5 separate regions of the Homo sapiens genome follow, and regions 1, 2, 4 and 5 are each linked to region 3. Evidence: promoter capture Hi-C in 16 types of primary human blood cells and fetal thymus (Javierre and others, 2016). All regions are on one chromosome and are shown on one strand. The core of a region is centred on a gene start or on the middle of the fragment in contact, and the rest is flanking DNA. Distances in the headings are between cores, read along the strand shown. Region 1 overlaps PTCH2 (patched 2). Region 2 overlaps ZSWIM5 (zinc finger SWIM-type containing 5). Region 3 holds the start of AKR1A1 (aldo-keto reductase family 1 member A1). Region 4 has its middle 1.8 kb from the start of POMGNT1. Region 5 has its middle 3.2 kb from the start of EIF2B3.

Evidence for each region. The method cuts DNA at HindIII sites, captures the fragments that hold promoters and counts their contacts. A CHiCAGO score of 5 or more calls a contact.
Region 1: a contact is called between a fragment that was not itself captured here and the fragment with the promoter of AKR1A1 in region 3, in 1 of 17 cell types (naive B cells). The highest score is 5.5, in naive B cells.
Region 2: a contact is called between a fragment that was not itself captured here and the fragment with the promoter of AKR1A1 in region 3, in 9 of 17 cell types (fetal thymus, naive B cells, neutrophils and 6 more). The highest score is 12.4, in fetal thymus.
Region 4: a contact is called between a fragment that was not itself captured here and the fragment with the promoter of AKR1A1 in region 3, in 1 of 17 cell types (fetal thymus). The highest score is 5.3, in fetal thymus.
Region 5: a contact is called between a fragment that was not itself captured here and the fragment with the promoter of AKR1A1 in region 3, in 5 of 17 cell types (activated CD4 T cells, naive B cells, fetal thymus and 2 more). The highest score is 7.3, in activated CD4 T cells.

Annotation. Positions count from the first base shown.
Region 1 is chr1:44,830,669-44,833,368 of GRCh38, forward strand. It overlaps PTCH2 (patched 2), which reads right to left. Exons shown (of 22, transcript NM_003738.5): 3 at 1,484-1,673; 4 at 1,307-1,376; 5 at 1,038-1,129; 6 at 180-375. Among named protein-coding and RNA genes, the nearest start is that of PTCH2, 11 kb to the right of the region's middle. The HindIII fragment of the contact is 7,207 bases long and covers 1-2,700 here.
Region 2 is chr1:45,016,293-45,018,992 of GRCh38, forward strand. ZSWIM5 (zinc finger SWIM-type containing 5) reads right to left here. Exons shown (of 14, transcript NM_020883.2): 14 at 107-2,700. The coding sequence ends at 2,162. Among named protein-coding and RNA genes, the nearest start is that of UROD, 5.4 kb to the left of the region's middle. The HindIII fragment of the contact is 1,175 bases long and covers 804-1,978 here.
Region 3 is chr1:45,549,532-45,552,231 of GRCh38, forward strand. It overlaps AKR1A1 (aldo-keto reductase family 1 member A1), which reads left to right and starts at 1,295. Exons shown (of 9, transcript NM_153326.3): 1 at 1,295-1,624. RefSeq lists enhancers at 978-1,037, 1,088-1,317, 1,548-1,767. The HindIII fragment of the contact is 4,529 bases long and covers 1-1,871 here.
Region 4 is chr1:46,198,902-46,201,601 of GRCh38, forward strand. It overlaps a transcript of POMGNT1 not described here. Among named protein-coding and RNA genes, the nearest start is that of POMGNT1, 1.8 kb to the left of the region's middle. The HindIII fragment of the contact is 5,315 bases long and covers 1-2,700 here.
Region 5 is chr1:44,988,446-44,991,145 of GRCh38, forward strand. It overlaps the pseudogene PPIAP35. Among named protein-coding and RNA genes, the nearest start is that of EIF2B3, 3.2 kb to the left of the region's middle. The HindIII fragment of the contact is 1,090 bases long and covers 797-1,886 here.

The DNA.
Region 1 (2,700 bases), core at 137-2,636, 720 kb before region 3:
CGTAGGATAACTGAATGGGAATGGAACATTGGGGGCCTGGCACTGTGGGAGCAGGGTAATAATGGCCAGGAAGTGGGGGGTCAGGGCACAGAGCAGTCAGCTCCCCCAGAACACAGGAGTATGAGGAAGGGAAAGGGAAGGAAAACAGCCTTTCCCTGGCAGACCTGGTTGGAACCCACCTGCCTGCTGTGATGGTTGGGGGCACTAGGTGGGCAGTGGAGGTCATCAGGGTGCAGACAGGGCCGCCCCACGTAGGCCTGGCCCACCTGTGCCTTGTCTAGCAGCTCCCGGAAGCCCTCAAGGGAGGCAAAGGGACCCAGCTCCTCCAGCAGCTGCTCTGGATCCAGGTTGGTCCACTGGATATCCGGGCGGCCGCTGAGGGAAAAGCCTATAGTTGGTGAGGGTCAGGGACGAAAACCCAGGCTCCAAACTGCTGCTGGGGCGCCATGCTGTACCCCACCCTCCTCTTATCTGCCGATTTGTCCTTCCATATGGAGGGTGTGCAAGCCTCAGCTTCTCAGAACTGCCAGGCTGCATGGGCCCACCAGGGTGCTACAGTGAGCTGTAGAAGAGTACAAGGGGCTGAGACGAATATCAGGGCAGGGTTACCTAATACATAGAAAGGGCCCAGAAAGGCCCCACTGAGTTCCTTACCAAGCTGTGTGCTTGGTTCTAATATACAACCAGCAGGCACATGCCTGTAGCAGGTTTTCTTTCTGGCCTGGGCAATGGCTTAGCAAACACCTAGGTAATTTCCCCCAGCAAAGCCTCTTTGTGGGGATCTTTTTCTCCTTTGCTCAGATCTTACAGATCTTTGTGTTTAGTTTTGTGTAAATAAGTCAGGTCTTCCTTCCTTGAGAGGGAAAGAGAAGGAGGATGTGGAGAGAGCCTTGGGGAAGCCCATGCTCTCTGTTCCTGGCCTGGGAGGTAATTAGGACCTTGGTAAGGTTTTGATCATCCTCATTCCCCAGACCCCTCCTTTCTGCTGGGAGAGTCCCCAGCGGGAGATGAAGCAGGGCCCCAGGAGTGGCACTCACGGCAGGTAGGCGGAGCCCCCTTGGAGTTTGGCTCCCTCCCAGAAGCAGTCGAGGGGGGTGAGGATCACGCACGGAAACAGCTTCTCAATCATCTGCCAGGGATACCCCGGGCCACGTCAGTCCTGCCCCACAACCTTTGTAGGATGCCCTCTGCAATCCCCCTCCTTAGTTTTAAGGGGGCAGATTGCAGGCTGTGGGGCTTGCTCGGTCTCTGAGTCCTCCCACGCTACAGAAAAAGTTCTGCCTCTACTCCCTCTCAGGACACTTACCCGCTCAATCATTCCATTTTCAATAAGGGGAACTCCTGACTTGTAGCAGATTTTGTTCAAATCCCAGGACCTGCAATAGCCAGGGGCATAGGAGATCAGCAGAAGAAGGGGATTCCCACTCCAGAACCCCCACAGCACGCCTCGCCCCCAGCTGCTCAGGGGCTCAGCCAGACTCACTTCCCATAGAGTGATACTTGGACTTTACTGGCAGTGAGGGCTGCCTGGAGGTGGAGGCCAAGTGCTTCGGGTGTGAGGATGTTCTCTCCCTCCTGGCGTGCGGTCTGTATCAGCATCTGAGAGGTGTATGCAGCCTCCTCCCCCAGCTTCTCCTTGGTGTAATGCAGCTCCTGGCTCACCCGGCTGCCCACTGCCAGAGCAAACAGAGAAAGCTGGGGGGGAAAGGGCCTAGGCGGGTCAGAACTTGGGAAGGGGGCTTCTAACTCTGAGGCCTCCCCAGACAAGTGGGAGAGGTGCGGCAGAGAGGAGTCCCTGCCTTATCCCTGAGGGCCTGGTCATGGCCCAGGCCGACTCCCCAGGCTTCTGGGTCCTGGAGCTCTGCCAGGGAAGTGGAGAAGCCTCGGTTGTGTGGCTCTGCGGATTTCTTGTGTGGTCTAGGGCTTAAGCATGAACCAGGTTGGCTGGGTTTTGGGTGTAAACTTAAAAATGACAATCAGCATGAGCTGGCCGTGGGCTGTGGGGGTTGTAGGGGCATCTTGGTAAGGGAACCCTCGCTCAGTCCCTCTCTGTTCTGGTGGGGAGGACAAGGAGGGCCAATAGGGGCCAATAGGGAGGCTGCTGCTAGGAGGGTTTCCTAAAAGAACAGGTGTAGGGCTAGGGCTGGTTCTTAGTTCAGGTTGCTCTGGGCAGTGATTTATATCCACACACCTTTCTGCAAAGTGTCCTAAGGAGAGGGCAGGGATAGGAGTGTCTGATAATAATGGGTGATAATAATGGGCCCTGTGTTGGTGTGGGGGAGAGGGAGGATGGGACAGTCATTCAGTGTGCTGCTCCCACTCAGGCAGAAAGTGCATGGAATCAGCTCACGAACCCTGGCAGGGGTGAAATCAAAGTGGGCCAAGGGGAGGGAGGTGTCCAGATCCTTTTCACCGCCCTCACTGTCCAGACCACAGGGATTCCCGGCGCCAGGCCTGCCATAGTGTCCTGGATCTTAGCGCCCCTCCAGTCCTGCGTTATGCTGGCCACAGGCTCCTGCTCTGTAACTGGGACCTGGGGGAGGTGGGGACATTGTGAGGGGCTATCACCTAACTATGATGTGGGGAAGAGTGAGGGCCAAATCTACCTCTGGAGGCTTTGCGGATTTGGTCTGATCTCAGACCCTGCGCTGTTTCCACCTGTCTGGGGGTCTCCTCCTGTTAGTCTTTGCTGCCTGCTGG
Region 2 (2,700 bases), core at 141-2,640, 530 kb before region 3:
AGACCACTAGGCACCCACTGTGCTGTAGGCTGAACCAGCTCCCTGGCCCAGCCAGGGCAATGCAGAAAGGAGAGATGGGTTTCATTTAGTGAGAGAACACAATTTCTGCTTTTAGAAAAATGATCTTTTATGTGATCCATGATTTATTCATAGAAAAGCACTGTGAATTCACACACTTGCTAAAAAAGGGCAACTGTGATACAGAAATGAGAGTGGCTTCTCTCTTTTTTTTAACCAACCCATTGGGCTGAGACGTAGGGGCCCTTGGCTGGACAGTAAGACTTGAGTAGCCACAAATGGCAAATACAACTTCTTGGTCAGTTTGGAGTAAAAAAGGTGACAGTTTGTCGAAGAAAGAAAAAGTAAAGCAGATGGAGAAGTTCTTAGTTCACATTCTAGCTATACCACCCCTTCCCTATCAAACCCCACCCCCAACTCAGGAACTAAGACATGAAACAGTAAACACCAAGACACTGGTTCCAACTGACTTTTCTGAGTGCCCTTGCTACCTCCTATAACAATTCCAGGCTGAGCACAGGGGTCAGGAAGGTAGCAGGAACATGATACACTATGGAGGTCAGCCAGGGCTAAGACAGGACTGCCCACTAGGGCTAGAAATTAGGAAGGGAGAGGCTAAGTGCAGACCAGCCCTAGCCTCCAAGTCAGCGAGCAATGAGACTGTGACAAAAGCCGGCGAGGAAGCTTGAGGTAGAAAGGCAGGGGAAGAAAGCAAGTATGAGGCGAGAAGAGAACTATGGAGCTAAAGCAGCCAATCTGATGGCAGAGGGAGATTGGTGCTTAGAAGCTTGTTTGGTGAGAGAATGAATAGAGGAGGCACAGAGATGGGGAACAAACGTTTAGCTGGCGAGAGAGATTTAAGAGGAATGGGAAAGAGAAATCTGGCAAAAAGGACACATTGATGCAGATCCTCAAACATGAATACACAGACATCCCTACATGTAGAAATACGCTCAGTTACACATATAAAGACACAGATGCATGGATAACAAGCATACACATGGATACAAACATGTTTATACACATGCACTCGTGTACGCAGATACACATACTAAACATGCACAAACATGAGTGCATTTGCACAAAGATGTGCATCCTCACATGTACACAAAATGTGTATATCCTCACGTAGAAACTCACAGTCCAGTGTGCACATATTCAAACAGGTACACAGCCATAGAACTGACACATACACATAAATATATATGTGCACAAACAGGCATGCACAGATGTATCTATGTACATACACACATGTACTTAGCCATAAAGATACACACACACAATTATAGATGAAACCACACACTTGCTAACACAAAGGTGACCACAGTAGATGAATATTATGAACTCAGCGGCTTCCCAGACCTTCATCTTCTCCCTGCACTTGTTTCTCAGGTGTTCAGCAGGCTCCTGAAGAGGCTGTGTGAGGCAGGAGCTTCAATGTCCTCACAGTTTTGTGAGGCAAAAGTCTAAGTCCAGTCCTGGCCTCTGTCCCTCACTCACCACTGGACTATAAATGCCCTGTCTGTAGGTGGGGGATTCTGCATAGACTAGACTTGGGTTGATCCTAACTGGCCATTTTTCTCCTTGGCACCCCCACTCTTCCACTGCTACCAGCAAACACTCTGCAAGGGAAACCTGAGAAATGGTTGTGAGTCTCCTCAGAAAATAAGCATATCCTCCTACCCACAGCTACTTCAAGTGCCCATCAAATCAGAAGCAGAATTATAAATAGTTACAAGTTTACAATAATTAGCAACACATATAGTATTTACAGTCCCACAAATGTGTCTGTTTCTCTGGTTAAGCAATCCCTGAGATGGAACAGTGTTCTGTGTTTGCCAAGGGAGACAGGGCCAATGCTCAGGACACGCAGGATATAGGGGCATGAGGTGGCATGTTGTGGGGTTTCTGGTCGATCTGCAGGGCCCAGCTCCTCCATGAACAGTAGGCTGTAGTCAGAAGCTTGCCAAGGTAGGCATTATCGACTAGAGCTGGACTTTCCCCATCCTTAGCCCTGTGGTCCTTTGGCCTCATCCACAGGTGCTCAGAGTTCTCTCAGGGTGGACAAATGTTTCAGTGCCCTTGGCCTGACCTGATACTACCTGGGAACCCAGGCTGCTCTGGCAGTGAGCTATCTGCTCTCTCAGCCAAAGCGCTCTCGCACCAGCAGCATCAACTTTTTCTTGCCTTTGTAGATCTGTTTGAGGTTGTCGATGAACTGGGCAAACTGCAGGTGGCCATCCTGGGGCAGCAGGAAGGTCTCCCGAGCCTTGCTTAGAAACTCAATGAACTCTCCATAGTGGCGAGGGCTGATGTGTGTTAGGCGTGAGTGTGTAGTGTTGATATAGGCATTGATGGTGGCATCCAGCAACTGGCGCAATGGAGCTTTGTCAGTGGACATGAGCTTTCCAGAGCTTCGGCGGCCTGGGATGCCGGCCAGGCCAGGTGCAGTCACTGTGCAGCGTCGTAAGATGTCTGAAAGCACTGTGGCACAGTGCACACTCTTCACCACCAGGGGGATGAGAGCTGCCAGCTCATTCTTGCCCAGAGAGTGGCTGAGAGCACAAGCCCAGAGCACATCATTGATGGCTGGGTGAGTATCCTGGTTGTAGGCCAGGTTAAGATGGCTCATGGCCAATGAGGCCAGCTTGAAGGCACGTAGCGGGTAGCCACGGAGCTCCA
Region 3 (2,700 bases), core at 45-2,544:
TCCACCAGGACATCACTTATGTTGGGGAGACAGTGGGGGATAACGGGGGTGGGGAAATGGGAAGAGTTGCTCTCAGGGAGTAAAGGTGTGGGGAAAAGCAGAGCCAAACCGAGATAACCCTGTGTCTTGCCCATCCCTGCCAAGGAAAACACATACATGCAAGACACCTCTCCACTCAAACAGCACAGACTATTTCAAATCGCAGATGTGTCATTTAATTAATACCTGTGTGACTTTGGGAAAATTATAAATAGCCTTAACCTTGCTGAGTCTGTCCAATCTGTAAAATGGATTATGAATACTTTCCTCACAGGCTTATGGTGTGCTGGTAATATCTTCCTCTGGATGGCAGTTACATTGCAAAAAATAATTTAAAAAAAAGAACTGTATACATTTAAGATTTATACATTTTCTTTCTTCCTGGATGTAGAATAGGAAAAAAAGAAAAAGAAAAAAAAAAAGACTGGTGTATTTTCTGTATATATGCTATACTACGATTTTTAAAAAGGCTTGTACGAAATAAAAGAATATTCCTTTTCGGCCAGGCGCAGTGGCTCACTCCTGTAATCCCAGCACTTTGGGAGTCCAGGGCGGGTGGATCACGAGGTCAGGAGTTCAAGACCAGCCTGGCCAAGATGGCGAAACCCCGTCTCTACTAAAAAATACAAAAAAATTAGCCAGGCGTGGTATCGGGCGCCTGTAATCCCAGCTACTCGGGAGGCTGAGGCAGAGAATTGCTTGAACCAGGGAGGCGGAGGTTGCAGTGAGCCAAGATCGCGCCACTGCACTCCAGCCTGGGCGAGAGCGAGATTCCGTCTCAAAAAAAAAAAAAAAAAAGGAATATTCCTTTTCCAGGATTATTATGAAGATTCAATAAAACCATGTTTATTAAGTGTTAAGCACAGTGCCTGGCACATAACGTGCTGGGCGGGGTCTATGGTCCAGACAGGGGGACCAGGCACTTTCCAGCGCCTGGATCTGCAGACGCGAGGTCTTCTGTATTCTGGCCAATCTTGGTGTTGCAGCTGCTCTCTGGGCCTCAGTTTGCTTGAACTAAATGTAACGGGGCCAACTTAGGTGAACTTTGGGAATCCAGCCAACCTGACTTTAGGGAGAGTATGGAGCCACGGATGGCATTGTGAATCCGGAGGGCCGACACCAGAAGAACCTGCAACGTGGCATCTGCTACCTTACTTCCCCCGGAAAAGCGCCTGCGGCGGCGCCTAGGCGCGCGGTGCAATGTGGGCCAGCAAAAGGCGAGGCTGGCCCCGCCCCTTGCACCGCCCACGTGGCCAGCGCCACCTGCCTCATTGTGCCCAGGAGTTCTCCAAACCCGCGCTGCGGAGTGAGTGACCAAGTTCCGGCCAGTTCGACCTCGAGGATCCAGAGGTGGAGACGGTACTACCTCCCAGCTCTGTTTTCCATCCCCTTCAGGTCCTTCCTCGGGAGGCGGCGAAGGCGGTCCACCCTGCGCGTGATCCTTTATGCCCGGCCCCTGCCCCTCCCTCCGGGTGGAACTTCCCCCTCACCGCCAGACTTAAGCTGAGGATCGTTGGATCTCTGGCGGGGTGCAGAACTGAGCCCAGGCCACAGTACCCTATTCACGCTCTGTGCTTGTGCCAAGGTGAGTTTCTCTTGCTGCTGGCCTATCTTTCTCCCGGAGGAGATGGCCTCGATTCTTTACTACTGAAATGTAAGCCCCTGGGGTTGAGTGGAGAGCGCAGAGCACTGGAGGGGACGAGACTTGGTTTCGGATTTGAGCTCTTCTTTTTCTCTGTATGATCTCTTGCTAACTTCCCAGTTTCTCTGAACCTGTTTCCTCAGCAATAAAATGAGGTCCTACATTAGAACTGTAGCAAGAATTGAGATAAAGCTTTGAAGGCGCACAGCGCATACTAGGTGATCTGCAAGTTTTAATTGCCATCTTTTTGTTTGCTCACCTATGTGCTTTTTCCAGCTGCTCCGGCTTTCTTATGCAGGTGCAGGGATAGTTCTCAGAAGTGGGGAGAAGTGGGGATAATTCTCTTACTTAGACACCTGCTTTGGGTCTGAGAAAGTCTGACATGTTATTCTGTTGCCCCAGAACTCTGTTAAAGTAAGACACAGATCTGAACCTTCACTGGATGAGGCTACTGTTAATTAACTCTTCCCCTTCAGATCGTTCATACTCAGGGCTGCAGGCCTGTTACTTTTCCAAGATCTGTTTCCTTATCTTTAATACAGGAGCAATCTCAGTATGATTCTATCTGGTCCACTGGGATTTTTTGCCGAGTATAGTAAAGTGCTTTGATATTCTCCAAGAGGATTCTTTTCAGGTTTTCCAACAGGTAAAGGAAGAAGGTGACAGAGGCAGCGACTTCCTCAAATGTCCTTCCAGCTGGCCAAACTCAACCTGTCAAGATCTCTCCCCCATAAGCTGTGTGTGTGTGGTGTGTGTATTGTGTACATTGTATGTATGTATGTATGTATGTATGTATGTATGTATGTATGGGACAGGTACTCTAGGAGTGAGGGGTTCAGGCAGATGACAGGCTCAGACCTCAAGGAGTAGCCAGGTTTGTGGGGGAAATTTATATATAAACAGAAAAATGTAGTGATGTGCACATGCTATCAGTACATGGAAGTAGCCATCCATTTATTTATTTATTTATTTTCTTTTTAGAGATGGATGGGGGTCTCTCGGTCTTTTGCCCATGCTGG
Region 4 (2,700 bases), core at 1-2,500, 650 kb after region 3:
TCCACAACAACCCCATGAGGTAGGCGCTATTATCATTATTATTGTTTTTTTTTTAATTGAGACGGAGTCTCGCTCTGTCGCCCAGGCTGGAGTGCAGTGGCACCATCTCGGCTCGCTGCAACCTCCGCCTTCTGGGTTCAAGCGATTCTCCTGCCTCAGCCTCCTGAGTAGCTGGGACTACGGTCGTGCGCCACCACACCCAGCTAATTTTTATATTTTTAGTAGAGACGGGGTTTCACCATGTTGGCCAGGCTGGTCTTGAACTTCTGACCTCAAGTGATCCGCCCGCCTTGGCCTCCCAAAGTGCTGGGATTATGGGCAGTGAGCCACCGTGCTGGCTATAGGCGCTATTACTATCCCTGTCGCAGATAAAGAAATAAGACCTAATATCACAAAGCTAGGAGAGGTGGAATTGAAACTCAGCCTAGCTCCAGATTCTGCTCTTAACCACTGCACTCTGCTGGCAACAATACATAAGAATTGCCAGGTTTAAATAACATCATACATAGAAAGCAGTTAGCTTAACACAATGGTTCTCAAACTTTAGCTTGCGTCAGAATCACCTGGATGACTTCTTAAAACAGAGGTGCTGGGCCCCATCCCTAGAGTTTTAGATTCAGTGGTCTGGGGCAGGGTGGGATTTTGCATTCCTGAGAAGTTTCTAGGTGATGTTGATGCTTGTTTGAAGTGGATAGCCATAGAACAGTTTTAGGCAGGGGAGCAATATAATCCAATTTCTGTTTTAAGAGAACCTTTACTTTTTTTGTGGAGAATGGGTTGGAAGCAGACAGAGGAAGCCAGAAGACCAGTTAGATTTTTTTGAGCTTTCTGTATTCCATCTGCTTCCTGAATGGTGGGGTAATATCCCCCAAAATGAAATGTTAACAGTACTTGTCTTAGGAGTTAAAGAAATACATGATTTTTCCTAGTAAGTATGTATAAGAATGGAAGAAAACCCAACACATTTTATTACATTTGAAAAGATGTCCCGGCTGGGCACCATGACTCACGTAATCCCAGCAGGTTGGGAGGCCGAGGTGGGGTGGTCAGTTGAGGTCAGGAGTTTGAGACCAGCCTGCCCAACGCGGTGAAACCCCGTCTCTACTAAAAATACAAAAGTTAGCTGGGCGTGGTGACAGGCGCCTATAATCGTAGCTACTCAGGAGGCTGAAGCAGGAGAATCGCTTGAACCTGGGAGACAGAAGTTGCAGTTGAGATTGCACCACTGCACTCCAGCCTGAGTGACAGAGCAAGACTCCGTCTCAAAAAATAAAAAAATAAAAATAAATAATTAAAAGATGTCCCTCAGGGTTCCTTCCTGACCCTCTTTTCTCCTCAAACTGACTCTTCATGGATGATCTCATTCTCTCATGACCTCTGTTACCAATCTAGATGCCCAAACTGACATTGGCAGTTCTAACCTCTTTCCTGAGCTCCAGGCTGCCTGATGTCCAGCAGGACATCTTCACAGGCCCCTCTAACGCAACAGCACAACTTCTGGAATCATTTCCTTTCACTCCTAGATTTCCTGTGGGTTCCCCTCCTCAGTGAACTGCACCAGGCCAAACAGCTGGGAGTCACCCTTGACTCCTTGTCTGTCTCCAGTGACCAGTCCAGGTATGTCTTGCTCACCATTGTATTCTCTACACCACACACAAAGGCTGGCACATAGTAAGCTCTCCGTAACATTTGTTGAAATCATTCATTTGTATTTTTTAACAAATTTTTATTGAATGCCACTATAAATGAATGTAACCAGTCACCTAGTCCTGTCAGTCTTACCTCCTAAAGAGCCTTCCATTCTAGTCTAATTCTTCTTTGACCTCACAATCAGCCCCAGTGCAGGCCATTTCAGTTTCTTGCTTTCCAGCCAGTCTCCTTGACTCTAGATTTTTACTCCTCCTATCCTTTTCTCCTTGCAAAATCCAGAGTGATTTTCTTTAAGGCAAATGTTGCCGGGTTCGGTGGCTCATGCCTGTAATCCCGGCACTTTGGGAGGCCAAGGCGGGTGGATCACCTGAGGCGGATGGATCCGCCTGGCCAACATGGTGAAACCCCGTCTCTACTAAAAATACAAGAATTAGCTGGGTGTTGTGGCAGGTGCCTGTAATTCCAGTTACTCAGGAGGCTGAGGCAGGAGAATGGCTTGAACCTGGGAGGCAGAAGTTGCAATGAGCCAAGATGGTGCCACTGCACTCCAGCCTGGGCAACAGAGCCGGACTCTGTCTCAAAAAAAAAAGACAAATGTTTTGTCTATCTCTAACTTAAAACCCTTCCATGGATCAAAAAGTACCAAGGAAAATGATGTTACTTAAAATTATAAAGGTAGGCCAGGCATGGTGGCTCATGCCTGTAATCCCAGCACTTTGGGAGGCTAAGGTGGGAGGATTGCTTGAGGCCAGGAGTTCGAGACCAGCCTGGGCAACATAGCGAGACTCTATCTAAATTTTAAAAAAAGTTAATTACAAAGGTAACCTTAGATGAACTAAAAAGAGTGATAGAAATATGTAGTGCCAGGCCGGGCGCAGTGGCTCACACCTGTAATCCCAGCACTTTGGGAGGCTGAGGCAGGCAGATCACGAGGTCAAGAGTTCGAGACCAGCCTGACCAACATGGTGAAACCCCCGTCTCTACTAAAAATACAAAAATTAGTCGGGCATGGTGGCACGTGCCTGTAATCCCAGCTACTCAGGAGGCTGA
Region 5 (2,700 bases), core at 92-2,591, 560 kb before region 3:
GATGTGTATGCTTTAGGACGAAGCTCTCGTCATCAAATTTCTCCCCGCAGGTGTACTTGCCACCAGTGCCATTATGGCATGTGAAGTCACCACCCTGACACATAAACCCTGGAATAATTCTGTGAAAGCAGGAACCTTTATAACCAAATCCTTTCTCTACATTGCTCAGAGCACGAAAGTTTTCTGCTGCCTTTGGAACCTTGTCTGCAAACGGCTCGAAGGACACGCGGCCCAAGGGCTTGCCGTCGACAGCGATGTCGAACACGGTGGGGTTAACCATGGCTGATCGTACAGAGCTCCTGGCGTCGGTGGCTGCATTTGCAAAGCCGAGACCCTGCTTTTAACAAAACAATAATAGGCCAGGTGCGGTGGCTCACGCTTGTAATCCCAGAAGTTTAGGAAGTGAGGCGGATGGATCCCTTGGGCCCAGGAGTTCGAGACTAGCCTGGGCAACGTAGTGAAACACCCTCTCTACTAAAAATACAAAAATTAGTCAGGTGTGGTGCCGCGCTGTGGGGTTCCAGCTACTTGGAAGGCTGAGGCAGGAGGATCGCTGGAGCCCAAGAGGCAGAGGTGGCAGTGAGCCAATATGGTATCACTGCACTTCAGCCTGGGTAACAAAGAGACAGGATCTCTAAGTAAATAAAATAAATATTAAAAAATGACGAATAGATAATAAAATAATTGTTGTTCTAAGCTCTACGGTTTGGAGTGGTTTATCAAGTTGCACTAGATAACAGGACCAATGGCCATTCTCTTTTTCCCATGCATTCCTGCAATTTCCTAATCTTTTGAAAGCTTCCTTTTTTTTCGATTAATTAATTTTTTTTTTTTTTTGAGACAGTCTCACTCTGTCACCAGGCTGGAGTTCAGTGGCACAATCTTGGCTCACTGCAACCTCTGCCTCCTGGGTTCAAGTGATTCCTGCGTCAGCCTCCCGAGTAGCTGGGACTACAGGCATGCGCCACCACGCCTGGCTAATTTTTGTATTTTTAGTAGACAAGGGGTTTCATCAGATAGGCCAGGATGGTCTTGAACTCCTGACCTCGTGATCTGTTCGCCTCGACCTCCCAAAGTGCTGGGACACAGCCGTGAGCCACCGTGCCCAGCCTGATTCATCTCTTAAATCTTGAGTTGCTTTAGCTTCCTGCCAGTTAAAAGGTAGAGCATGATTTCTGTAATAAAAATAAAGGAGCTTGACTTCATTCAACAATATTTATTCATTTATTTTTAGAAATGAGGTCAGCTTATGCTGCCCAGGCTGGACTCAAACTCCTGGGCTCAACGATCGTCTTGCCTCAGCTTCCCAAGTAGCTAGGACTACAGGTATGTGCCATGGAGGACTGGCTTCAACAATATCTTGAGTGCCTAATATGTGCCAAGCAGTGTCTTAGATGCTTGGTGTTGCAGATACAGCAGTTAATGATTAGGACTTGTCATTTTTTCCAGAAGGAGGTCTGCTTAGACCCTGAAAAAAAAAGGGGGGGACTCATATCCTAAAACCAGCCTATCTTTGCCTTGCCATGAACTGACTGATCTGGCCACAGGAGGCCTGAAGTCTGACTACCCCTCTATAGAAACACAGAGATATTCTCTCTTTGGTATTACCTCAACCAAGACTTGGAAATTACAGCATGGGTTTGAGGTAAGAACTAATTATAAGTAAGAAGAGCAGTCAGCCCCATATCTGCCATCCATTTCAAATCCTTATGTTTAAACTAGCAAATGTTTTTCAACGAACTAGAGGGTTTTCTCTTCTATTGTGGAAAGTAGTTGAGAGATTGCTTCAGTTTAAACTCACTTTAAATTATTCCCTGAGGGCAACAATTCTCAAACTTTTTCATCTCTAGACTCTTCATACTTAAAAATTACTGAGGACCCCAGAAAGCTTTTGTTTATATGGATTATATTTATCAATATTTACCATATCGAAAAAAAATTATTTTTTTGACACGGAGTTTTGCTCTTGTTGCCCAGGCTGGAGTGCAATGGCACGATCTCAGCTCACTGCAACCTCTGCCTCCCGGGTTCAAGCGATTCTCCTGCCTCAGCCTCCCAAGTAGCTGGAATTTACAGGCATGCGCCACCACACCCAGCTGATTTTGTATTTATAGTAGAGACGGGGTTTCTCCATGTTGGTCAGGCTAGTCTCAAACTCCTGACCTCAGGTGATCCGCCCGCCTTGACCTCCCAAAGTGCTGGGATTACAGGCATGAGCCATTGTGCCTGGCCAACTACATTTTCAAAACAAAAAGTTTAGTGAGATGAATGCCATTGTTTCACCTTTTTGAATAGTCTCTTTAGGGTCTGGCTTAATAGAAAACAGCTTGATTTTTCCATTATTGTAATATATTATTTTGGTTTAATTATATCATAAAAATGTGACTTCACATAGATACATAGTTGGTAAGAGATAGAGCTTTTAATAGCCTTTTCAGATAATTATAGGTATTCTTTGACACTATACCAAAATTCAATAAGTGGTAGTTTGTTAAAGGTTTGTTGCAATGTAGAATCGGAAATTATATCAATGAACATTTTGTACCTTGTTACAGTACTTGCACTTTGAATGGACATTTTACCCATGCATGACCTTGCAACTTGGTATACAAATAATATGTAAAATATTCGTTCACAGAGTTATGCAGATCTTCCTAACATTGACTCATTATACAATATTTTAAAATCACATTTGTTAAT